Regions from separate parts of the Homo sapiens genome. Here all the other regions are linked to region 1. The links are contacts of gene promoters, found by promoter capture Hi-C in blood cells and fetal thymus (Javierre and others, 2016). All regions are on one chromosome and are shown on one strand. The core of a region is centred on a gene start or on the middle of the fragment in contact, and the rest is flanking DNA. Distances in the headings are between cores, read along the strand shown. Region 1 holds the start of THYN1 (thymocyte nuclear protein 1). Region 2 overlaps USP28 (ubiquitin specific peptidase 28). Region 3 overlaps PPP2R1B (protein phosphatase 2 scaffold subunit Abeta).

Region 1 (3,057 bases), core at 376-2,875:
GTTTTATGCAAATCATATGCATAAGTAAACACAAGTTCCCAGAAGGAAATACAGTATAAAAACAAAACAAATACCACCACTCATGAACTTTGCCAGTTACTAGCAGAGTTCAAGATGCCAATACATAGTTACTAGCAGAGCTCAAGATGCCAATACATATACACTAAAAAGGTAAAGCTAAATAGAAAAACACTCCAAATGAAATGGGAAAAGCCTTTGACTGCAGAGCCACTCAAGTGTAAGCAAGATGCAAACAATAACAAAACCCACCTCTAAATAATTCCTTATCTGCTTCGGTATCAACCAGGGTAATCTGGGTTATCAAATTCTAAGCGCTAGGCCAGGGCAGCACCTCTTGAATGAGTTTTAGGACATTCAGAAGAAAACAGTATTCTATGCCTTACTGTACTTTATAGATCTGATATCTAAGGGACTTATTCTGTTGTAAAGAAAACTGCCATTTATTTAAAATAAATTTAAAAATATTTCAGAAGAAAAAAGTGTTTATAAACATTCTTGGCAGAGAAGTCACAAACTGGCCGGGTCTCCACCACTCCTCGCTACATTCAAATTACTGTTCAGAGCCTAAAGACACTCAAGTTTGTCAGCTCTGGTAGAGTTTCCCACTGGCAATAATAATTATTTTTCCTGCATGAGTTTCAACACTAAAAGTGTCTTATAGCCAGAGGTGTTAAGATACCAAATCTTTGTGTGTGAGCAAATCTTGTATGACCTGGAGTTCTTGTGCAGTTGTCACCATCAGCACCCAGCCAGCTTCTTATATTCTCACTGCTTTTATGACCTACTGTTATGATTAAAAACCAACCAACCCAACAACAACCAAGCCCCAAGTTTCTTCACTTCTCTAAGCATCCGAGGGTGACCGGCCGCAGGAGGACCCGGGCCGGAGGGGAACCTGCGGGGGGATGACCGGCCGGAGGGGAACCTGCGGGGGGTGACCGGCCGGAGGAGGACCGGGGCGGGGGTGACCGGCCGGAGGAGGACCGGGGCGGGGGTGACCGGCCGGAGGAGGACCCGGGCAGGGGTGACGGGCCAGATGGGGACCCGGATGGTGGTGACCGACCGGAGGGGGCAGCCAGGCCGGGGGTGACCGGCCGGAGTAGGGAGCCAGGCCGGGGGGGTGACTGGCCGGAAGGGGAGCTGACGCCGGGGTGACTGGATGGAACGGGGAGACTGCAGCCCCTCGCGGACATATGTCCGCCGGGGTTCTGGACACCTGTCCTACTGCCCGCCAGGAGATCCTTACGGTCGATGCAGGAGGTCAAGCTCCGGTGGCCGGTCTGGACGAGGACCCGGAGACCGCCGGGCAGGCAGCCGAGGCGCGCCCCGAAACGCCGGCAGCCGCTCCACAGCATAGCCGCCGCAGCTCCGCGTTCAGCTAAGAGTCTGAACGCCTTCGACCTCCGTTGCGCTCGCACTGGCGGGACCTGCGACCCGGCAACGCCTGTCCCACTGCACCCTGGGGGTTGTAGTCCTCCCACGAGCCCTAACAACCCAGGTGCCAGGCGGGCTCCCAAGGGGACAGGACTACAATTCCCAGAAGTCCTCGGGGCCTCGGCGCCGCAGAGATGCACCGCCCACCAAGCGCCGCGGGGGTCGCGCTGCACAGCCTGCGGCGCAGCGGAGGCGGACCGCAGTCGAGTCTGCAGAGTGTTGGGTCTGTAGCCAGCAAATTACTTCATCATCTAGATTATCCATTCAGTTGATCCTAATTAGCAAGGATAACAAGGTAACACAAGGCTTACTTATATTCACCCAACAAAAGTGTCTCTGTGGAGCCACTTCCCAGTGAACTACATACTGAGATAGGGGTTCCTGGATGAGAAGGACCAAGGACAGAACCGAGAAGAGTTTAGGGGCAGGTTATGCGAGATGGAAATGGCGCAGATAACGGAGGGAAGGATTTGAGGGCTCAAACGTAGGCGTCTGTGTTTCGCAAAAGTTGGAGACGTTCTAGGCTGCCTCTCGTTGCCTCCATCTCGCTCTGCGCGGGTTTTGGAGGACATTAGCATTCTTTCTTGTATCTCCGTTGATTCCAGAATCGTCCGCACTAAAGTCCCCTGCAGCGTGACCATGTCGAGACCCCGGAAGAGGCTGGCTGGGACTTCTGGTTCAGGTGAGCTGCCCCTAGGCTGCACAAAGGCAGCCCAAGAAAAAACTTTTCTCGAAGAGCCTGTTTAGTACTCATTTTTCACTCCCTGCTTTTTGAGAACCCTTTGTGATATTTTTACTCCATTATCCTTAATCACTCTCCATCTTCTTTACTTGTCTCACCAAGCTCCTACCTACAGTTCCTTTTTCTTGTTTATTCAGGCAATGGTTGTTGTGCACAAAGACTCTTTGAGATACCAGGTGGCGTGCTAAAGAATATAAAGCGCCTGCTTGCGGGTGAACTGCAAACAGATGTGATGGGGTTCAGGAAAATGGATTGTTAAGTTTATGGAGGGAGGAATCACGGGGAAGGCCTCGAGAAGGATGTGGAATTTGAGCCCAGCCTTGAAGAATGGGAGACTTTCCACGGGCAAAGTTTAGTACTAAGAAAACGTGATGTCGTTTTTATAATCACAAAGATGGATGGCATTCTAAGTGGATGGAGGAGGAGGAACATTGGAAGGTACAGAAAGTACCTCTTTTGGGAATGACAGGGGTTCCAGATATACTACAGCACATTGCAGTTATTTATCAATATGTGGTGTTTGCAGTGGGCCTGTTAACTCCTAAGGGGCCATTAGGAAACTAGGTTAGGAAGGTATGCTGGGTTCAGAGCATTAGACAGCCATAAATGGTATTTAATGACAATTGATGTAGGGACTTTGACTAAATTCAGAGGCAGTATAGTCATTAAGTAGCTTCAGATAGACCTCAGTGACAGGTGCTGACCTCATATCTTGATTCCACCATTACTGGATGTGTGATCTGGAGCATGCTTCCCAGATGAAGAGTAGAACATCTCACAGGTTATGTAGATTAACCGAGTTAGGGTTAGGGTAACACATAGACCTTGGGCCCTGTCATATAGTAATTTAACAACTTAGC
Region 2 (3,256 bases), core at 733-3,232, about 20 Mb after region 1:
TGTACTGAGGGTTCACATCACACATTCTTTATGTCAGCTGAAGCCTTATAAAAACCTGCCAGTTTCAGTGAAAATTTAATGCCCTTTTTGCTTTCTCTTGATTTATTGACCTTTCGTTTCCTTTTGTCTCATTAACTGATTTTTAAAACATCAGTAAGTCAGTGATTGGTTCCACAACTCTCATGCCCCTCTGCCCCCAAATGCAAACAGTATTTTTTTTTTTTTTTGAGACGGAGTCTCGCTCTGTTGCCCAGGCTGAAGTGCAGTGGCGCGATCTCTGCTCACTGCAAGCTCCGCCCCCCGGGTTCATGCCATTCTCCAGCCTCAGCCTCCTGAGTAGCTGGGACTACAGGTGCCCACCACCACGCCCGGCTGATGTTTCTGTATTTTTAGTAGAGACGGGGTTTCACAGTGTTCGCCAGGATGGTCTCGATCTCCTGACCTCATGATCCGCCCGCCTCGGTCTGCAAACAGTATTTTTAAGACTTACTGGCAAATAGCATCTTACCAGGCGAGATCTCTCCATGTGTTCTGTTTCATCAAAGAAATTAAATCAATAGTAAAATGAAGCAAGTACTTAACAAGGAAAATAATGCTGGTAATAGTAATAGCTAATGCTAATTGAGCATGCACTATGTGCCAGACTCGGTGCTCAGAACTTAACATAGCATTCTCTCAGTACTTACACAACTCCATGAAGTTTCTATGAGAAGGCTTATACTTGTTAAGTAATTCGTCCAAGGTCACCCAGTGAGGATATGGTACAGTTGGAATTGTATCTAGGCAGTTCTGACCCCAAGAGCCCAAGGCGCCCCTGGTCCTATCTCATAGTTGATGGGCCCATTGCCCTGGATCACAGACTTTCCACTACTCTTATAATGCCTTTTCTAGAACTCTCCTAATGTTTTAAACTTCCAGTCCTCCCTACAGTCTTTCTAAATAGATAATCTTCTTTTCTACTTGACTGAGCTCGCTGATGTCTAAAAAGAGCTCCCTGCCTTCTGTTTTGTCCCCCTCTCCCTACGCCATCTCATCTCTTTTCTCTTATTTCAGTGGAAAAGGTTCCCTTCCTTTTTCCCCCTTTCATTTCTTAGAGATAAACCTAGATTAATGGTTTTTACTAGGGAGAGATTTTGTAATCTAGGAAGCATTTGGCAATGTCTGGAGACTTTGATTGTGACTCTGGAGGGAGGATGCTACTGGAATGTAGTGCGTAGAAGCCGGGAATGCTGCTAAACATCCTGCAGTGTACAGGAGTAAGCCCCTCTAAACAGAGTTATGTGTAAATTGTATAAAATAGTGCTGAGCTTGACAAACTCTGATCTAGATGATGTCTCTCTTCTCTTTCTATTATGTCCCTTCTCCTTAGTCCTAGTCTAACCCCCAGACACCTTCACTGTCTTCTCCCTTGCTACTCACATTATGGTCCACAGACCAGCAGCATTCACATCCCCTAGGATTTAGACATGCAGAAAGTTGAGTGTGCTAGAGCCAGCTTGCTCTGCCTCTCCAGCTGATTTTGTACATCTCTTTCCAGCTCTGTGTTCAATGACCTCGTGTTGATAACTGTGCCAAGGTGGGAATATTTATACCAAGGAAACAAGCATACACTGCCAATCAGCATACCACTGCCTGTACCCCCACTCTAGACCTATTCAATCAGTTTCTGCCTTTTGACAAGATTCTTGGGTGATTCATTTGCATATTACATTTTGAATTTGCATTTTCCATTTTACCGTGCACTTGTCCTCTATCTTGAAACCAAATAACAACAACAAAAGTGTCTATTGCCCAGTCCAGCTGTTGTCTCCACCTTCCTCCTCTTGTTTGCTTTTGGAACAAAGTTTCTAACCCCACCTGTTTCATTTCTAAAACATTTTTCCAGTGACAATGTATTCAGACTCAATATACAAAACTTGGAAAAGACAGACTTGAGCAAGACTAACTCTTAGCTGACAGGAGATTGAGGAAGGTTGGTTCCCAGATTCTGCTACAGAGCTTAAGGTGGCAATAACAGCTTCTGCAAAAGCCAAATAATGAGATGGCCGTGTGGACCAGTCTGGGCTCCAGCAAATGGCTGATTGTTCAGAGGCCTGCAGAGGGACTGACTAGGCAGCAGCAGGTTAGGTTGAAAGGCAGTGAGTGGTTTTATGTAATCAGAATCTGCTCAGCAGCCTACTTTGCCAAGGCAGGATCTCTCCCTCTGTCACCCAGACTGGGGTGCAGCGATGTGATTATAGCTCACTTTGGCCTTGACCTCCTAGGCTCAAGCGATCCTCCCACCTCAGCCTCCTGAGTAGCTGGGACCACAGGCGTGCATCACCGCACTTGGCTGTTTTTTTAATTTTTTATAGAGACGAGGTCTTGCTATGTTGCCCAGGCTGGTCTTGAACTCCTGGGCTCAAGCAGTCCTCCTGCCTTGGCCTCCCAAAGTGTTGGGATTACAGGCATGAGCCACCACACCTGGCCCCCTCATACTTTTATTATTTTATGCTTTTATGATCCCTCATTACCACTTTTTTGCTGTTACTTTTTTCTTGTTTTGTTTTTTGAGACGGAGTTTCGCTCTTGTTGCCCAGGGTGGAGTGCATTGGCACGATCTTGGCTCACTGCATCCTCCGCCTCCTGGGTTCAAGTGATTCTCCTGCCTCAGCCTCCCGAGTGGCTGGGATTACAGGCATGCACCACCATGCCCAGCTAATTTTGTATTTTTAGTAGAGACAGGGTTTCTCCATGTTTGTCAGGTTGGTCTTGAACTCCTGACCCCAGGTGATCTGCCCACCTCAGCCTCCCAAAGTGCTGGGATTACAGGCGTGAACACCTGGCTCCAAATCTACATTTCTAATCCTGAGTTGCAAATGACTTCTATACTCTGTTTCCCAGTGCTTTTTGAACAGGTCTGCTTGAATATCAACCTCCTTGGCTATAAACGTTTGCTTCATACTTATTTTCCCAGGGTTGTTATACTAGGCATGGGAATGTACACTTGTATTACTCGTGTCTGCCATATGCTATGTACCACCCTAAGCACTTTTCCATACATTTTTATTTACAAAAACCCAGCAAGGTGTGAACTATTACCCTATTACTGATGAGGAAACTGAGATGTCTTGTTTGTTTTTTGAGATAGGGTTTCACTCTGTCACCCAAGCTGGAGTGTGGTGACACCGTCAAGGCTCACTGCAGCCTTGACCACCCAGACCCAAGCAATCCTCAGACACTTGAGTAGCTGGGACCACAGGTATGCACCACCACA
Region 3 (3,246 bases), core at 469-2,968, about 22 Mb after region 1:
CTGACAAGCTGTTATCCTGTATTTGTGGTGCCTAACATTGGTCATAGTTTTGTACTTACTCTTGAGGAAATATACATGATCCTGTCTGAATTTGGCTATGTATCTTTTAAACCTAGTGATTCAACTCACAGTAATATTAATATTGTGTCAAGTCTTTTACACTGTGTCATTTGTAGACACCATCTGGGAATTGCCATCTGGGACACGAGATCTTGGCTTTTCTACAGAAGTCGTGTCTTTGGGTTGGCCGCACCATATGTTATCACTGTGTGAGCTGAAAGTAACCATTTGGTATGATGCAGCTAACATTCTGGTTACGTGTACCACCTCCCTTCAGTCACTTTAAAAGGTGATTATCTGTTTCTAACCTGATTCAATAAGTTTTCTTCTCTGGTTTTCCTTTTTAATCCATTCAGCCTCCTTTGGAAAATCTGGCAACTGTGGAAGAGACTGTTGTTCGTGACAAGGCTGTGGAGTCCCTGAGACAGATCTCCCAGGAGCATACTCCTGTTGCTCTGGAAGCTTATTTTGTACCTCTGGTGAAACGCTTAGCAAGTGGGGATTGGTTCACCTCTCGCACATCTGCATGTGGTTTGTTCAGCGTTTGCTATCCCAGGGCATCAAATGCTGTTAAAGCAGAAATCAGACAGTAAGCCATGGTATTTTTTTGCCTTGTTAAAGCAGAAATCAGGTAGTAAGCTATGAGTTATTTGGGATTACTGGGGACTTGTAGCTGACAATTTACATAGTACCTTGTTACCAATGAGTGGCTGATACTAGGATAGTAGGATTTATGACATCTTTCTTTTTTTTTTTTAAGAGATAAGGTCTTGCTCTGTTGTCTAGGCTGGAGTGCGGTGGCACAATCATAGCTCACTGCAACCTTGAACTCTTGTGCTTAAGTGATCCTCCAGCCTCAGCCTCCAAGTAGCTAGGACTACCGACATACACTACTGCGCCTGGCTAATTTTTAAAAAAAATTTCTGGCTGGATGCAGTGGCTCATGCTTGTAATCCCAGCACTTTGAGAGGCTGAGGTGGGAGGATTGCTTGAACTCAGGAGTTCAAGACCAGCTTGAGCAACATAGTGAGACCTTGTCTCTACTAAAAAGAAAAAAATTAGCTGGGCATGGTGGGACCCGCCTGTATTTCTAGCTACTCAGAAGGCTGAGGTGGGAGTTCACTTGAGCCCCCGACAAACAACAACAAAAATATTTTTGGCATATAGATAGGGTCTTGCTATGTTGCCCAGTCTGCTTTCAATTCCTGGCCTCAAGCAGTCCTCCTACCTGGGCCTCCCAAAGTGCTTTGATTACAGGTGTGAGGCACCATGCCTGGCCTATGATGTCATTTTTTATTATCCAGTTGAATATGTTTTATTTTTGTTACTTCTATAAGTAGAAGCTTAGTCACTGATTATTGTAAGATAAAACCTCTAAAAGTCTGTCTGTGTGTATGGGGGGCAGGTTTATTCAGTGTTATTTGATGGGAAATACCTTCATTGTTTTATGTTGCAGGCAATTCCGTTCCTTGTGCTCAGATGACACACCAATGGTACGACGTGCTGCTGCTTCCAAATTGGGTGAATTTGCAAAAGTTTTGGAATTAGACAGTGTGAAAAGTGAAATTGTTCCACTGTTCACTAGTCTAGCTTCAGATGAACAGGTAAACTAACTCTTAGTATTTAAGGGACACAGATATGCTCCTTTCCTCTAAATTTTCAGAATTTCTTTGGGGAGTTTTAGTTTTCTTGTTAGGATTCTTTTTACAGAATTAGTGCTGATTCTGGCCTGGTTAAAGTGTAACATGCTTATCTCAATGTTCTTATGTTTCTTTCTTAACCAGACCATGATTTCTCTCTTACATTAGCAGCTGTTAAAAGAGTGGGGAGTCAGAGAGGAAATGGGAGCCATAATTAGAAAGGAAGACCAAAGCTGCATGGAGGGTAACATACCTTTGGGAATTGCTGGCTGTATTGTAATATGAGGGAGTAATGTTTCCTGGAATTTTTGACTTTTCAGATAAATAAGCTTAGAATGTGTTAGGAAAGCTATTTGACTCTCTGCTTCTTCTATAGTAGTGTATGGGATTACTTCACATAATCGTATTCAATTCTGAAGATCTAGATCTCTTTGGTGTAGAAATAACAATAAAACTAGCAAACATCCAAATGAAGTACTTAATTTTTCTCTGCCTTTAAGTAGTTATGTGTATTAAGTAATTCAGTCCTTACAACAGCCCCATGAGATAGCCCATTTTACACATTAGAAAACAAAGGCACAGAAAGTTTAAGTAACTTGCTGAAGTTTGCATAGTTAGCAGTAGTGGAGTCAGAATTTGAATCTAGGTGGTTTGGCTCCAGAATTTGTGCCCTTCACAGCTAGGCTGTCCCGCTTCTCTGTAATGGTGCTTAATAGGATCAGCTCCCAGAGTTCCTGGACTCTAGAATAGTCCTTTTGGGCTTTTAATTTGCATGTTGCCTGCCCTAAGATCGCTTCATGTGTACAGGACCACAAGCCCCAGGACACATATTAATGAGTCTCATTTTCAGATCCTAAATCTAAAGATCTAAATCCTACTTTGAAAATAATTTTAAAAATTATTAGAATTTTTATTCTAATAATAAATGTACAAAATGAATGTATAACTTAATGAACTATTAGAAGGTAATACCAACTTGTTAACGATCACCTATGATAGGAGACATCACTTTGACAGCCACTATCCCAGAATCCCTCCATGGATTCCCTTTCAAACACAATCTCTCTTTCCTCCTCCACTTGCCACTCCATTTCCTTAAGAGTAACATTATCCTGACTTTTATGGTAAGCGCAGCCTTTGTTTTCTTTGCACTTTTTCTTTTCTTTTCTTTTCTTTTTTTAAAAGGAGTCTCACTCTGTCACCAGGCTGGAGTGCAGTGGTGCAATCTCGGCTTTCTGCAACCTCTGCCTCCCGGGTTCAAGCAATTCTCCTGCCTCAGCCTCCCAAGAAGCTAGGACTACAGGCGCATGCCACCACGCCAAGCTAACTTTTGTATTTTTAGTAGAGACGGGGTTTCACCATGTTGACCAGGATGGTCTCCATCTCTTGACCTTGTGATCCGCCCACCTTGGCCTCCCAAAGTGCTGGGATTACAGGCGTGAGCCACCGTGCCCGGCCTTCTTTGCACTTTTATTACCTAAATGTTATAGTTTAAAACAGTGCTTTACAACAGAAATATAATGTAAGCTACCTGTTGATTTTAAGT

The links. The method cuts DNA at HindIII sites, captures the fragments that hold promoters and counts their contacts. A CHiCAGO score of 5 or more calls a contact.
Region 2: a fragment that was not itself captured here is called in contact with the fragment with the promoter of THYN1 in region 1 in 1 of 17 cell types (neutrophils); the score reaches 5.6 in neutrophils.
Region 3: a contact is called between a fragment that was not itself captured here and the fragment with the promoter of THYN1 in region 1, in 1 of 17 cell types (neutrophils). The highest score is 6.1, in neutrophils.

What each region holds. Positions count from the first base shown.
Region 1 is chr11:134,251,920-134,254,976 of GRCh38, reverse strand. THYN1 (thymocyte nuclear protein 1) reads left to right here and starts at 1,625. Exons shown (of 7, transcript NM_014174.3): 1 at 1,625-2,137. The coding sequence starts at 2,095. It overlaps ACAD8 (acyl-CoA dehydrogenase family member 8), which reads right to left and starts at 1,409. Exons shown (of 11, transcript NM_014384.3): 1 at 1,268-1,409. The coding sequence starts at 1,376. RefSeq lists an enhancer at 1,495-1,864. The HindIII fragment of the contact is 5,608 bases long and covers 1-3,057 here.
Region 2 is chr11:113,869,458-113,872,713 of GRCh38, reverse strand. The region is part of intron 1 of USP28 (ubiquitin specific peptidase 28); the gene reads left to right. Among named protein-coding and RNA genes, the nearest start is that of USP28, 4.5 kb to the left of the region's middle. The HindIII fragment of the contact is 5,153 bases long and covers 1-3,256 here.
Region 3 is chr11:111,758,222-111,761,467 of GRCh38, reverse strand. PPP2R1B (protein phosphatase 2 scaffold subunit Abeta) reads left to right here. Exons shown (of 15, transcript NM_002716.5): 4 at 417-649; 5 at 1,517-1,664. Among named protein-coding and RNA genes, the nearest start is that of PPP2R1B, 6.5 kb to the left of the region's middle. The HindIII fragment of the contact is 626 bases long and covers 1,406-2,031 here.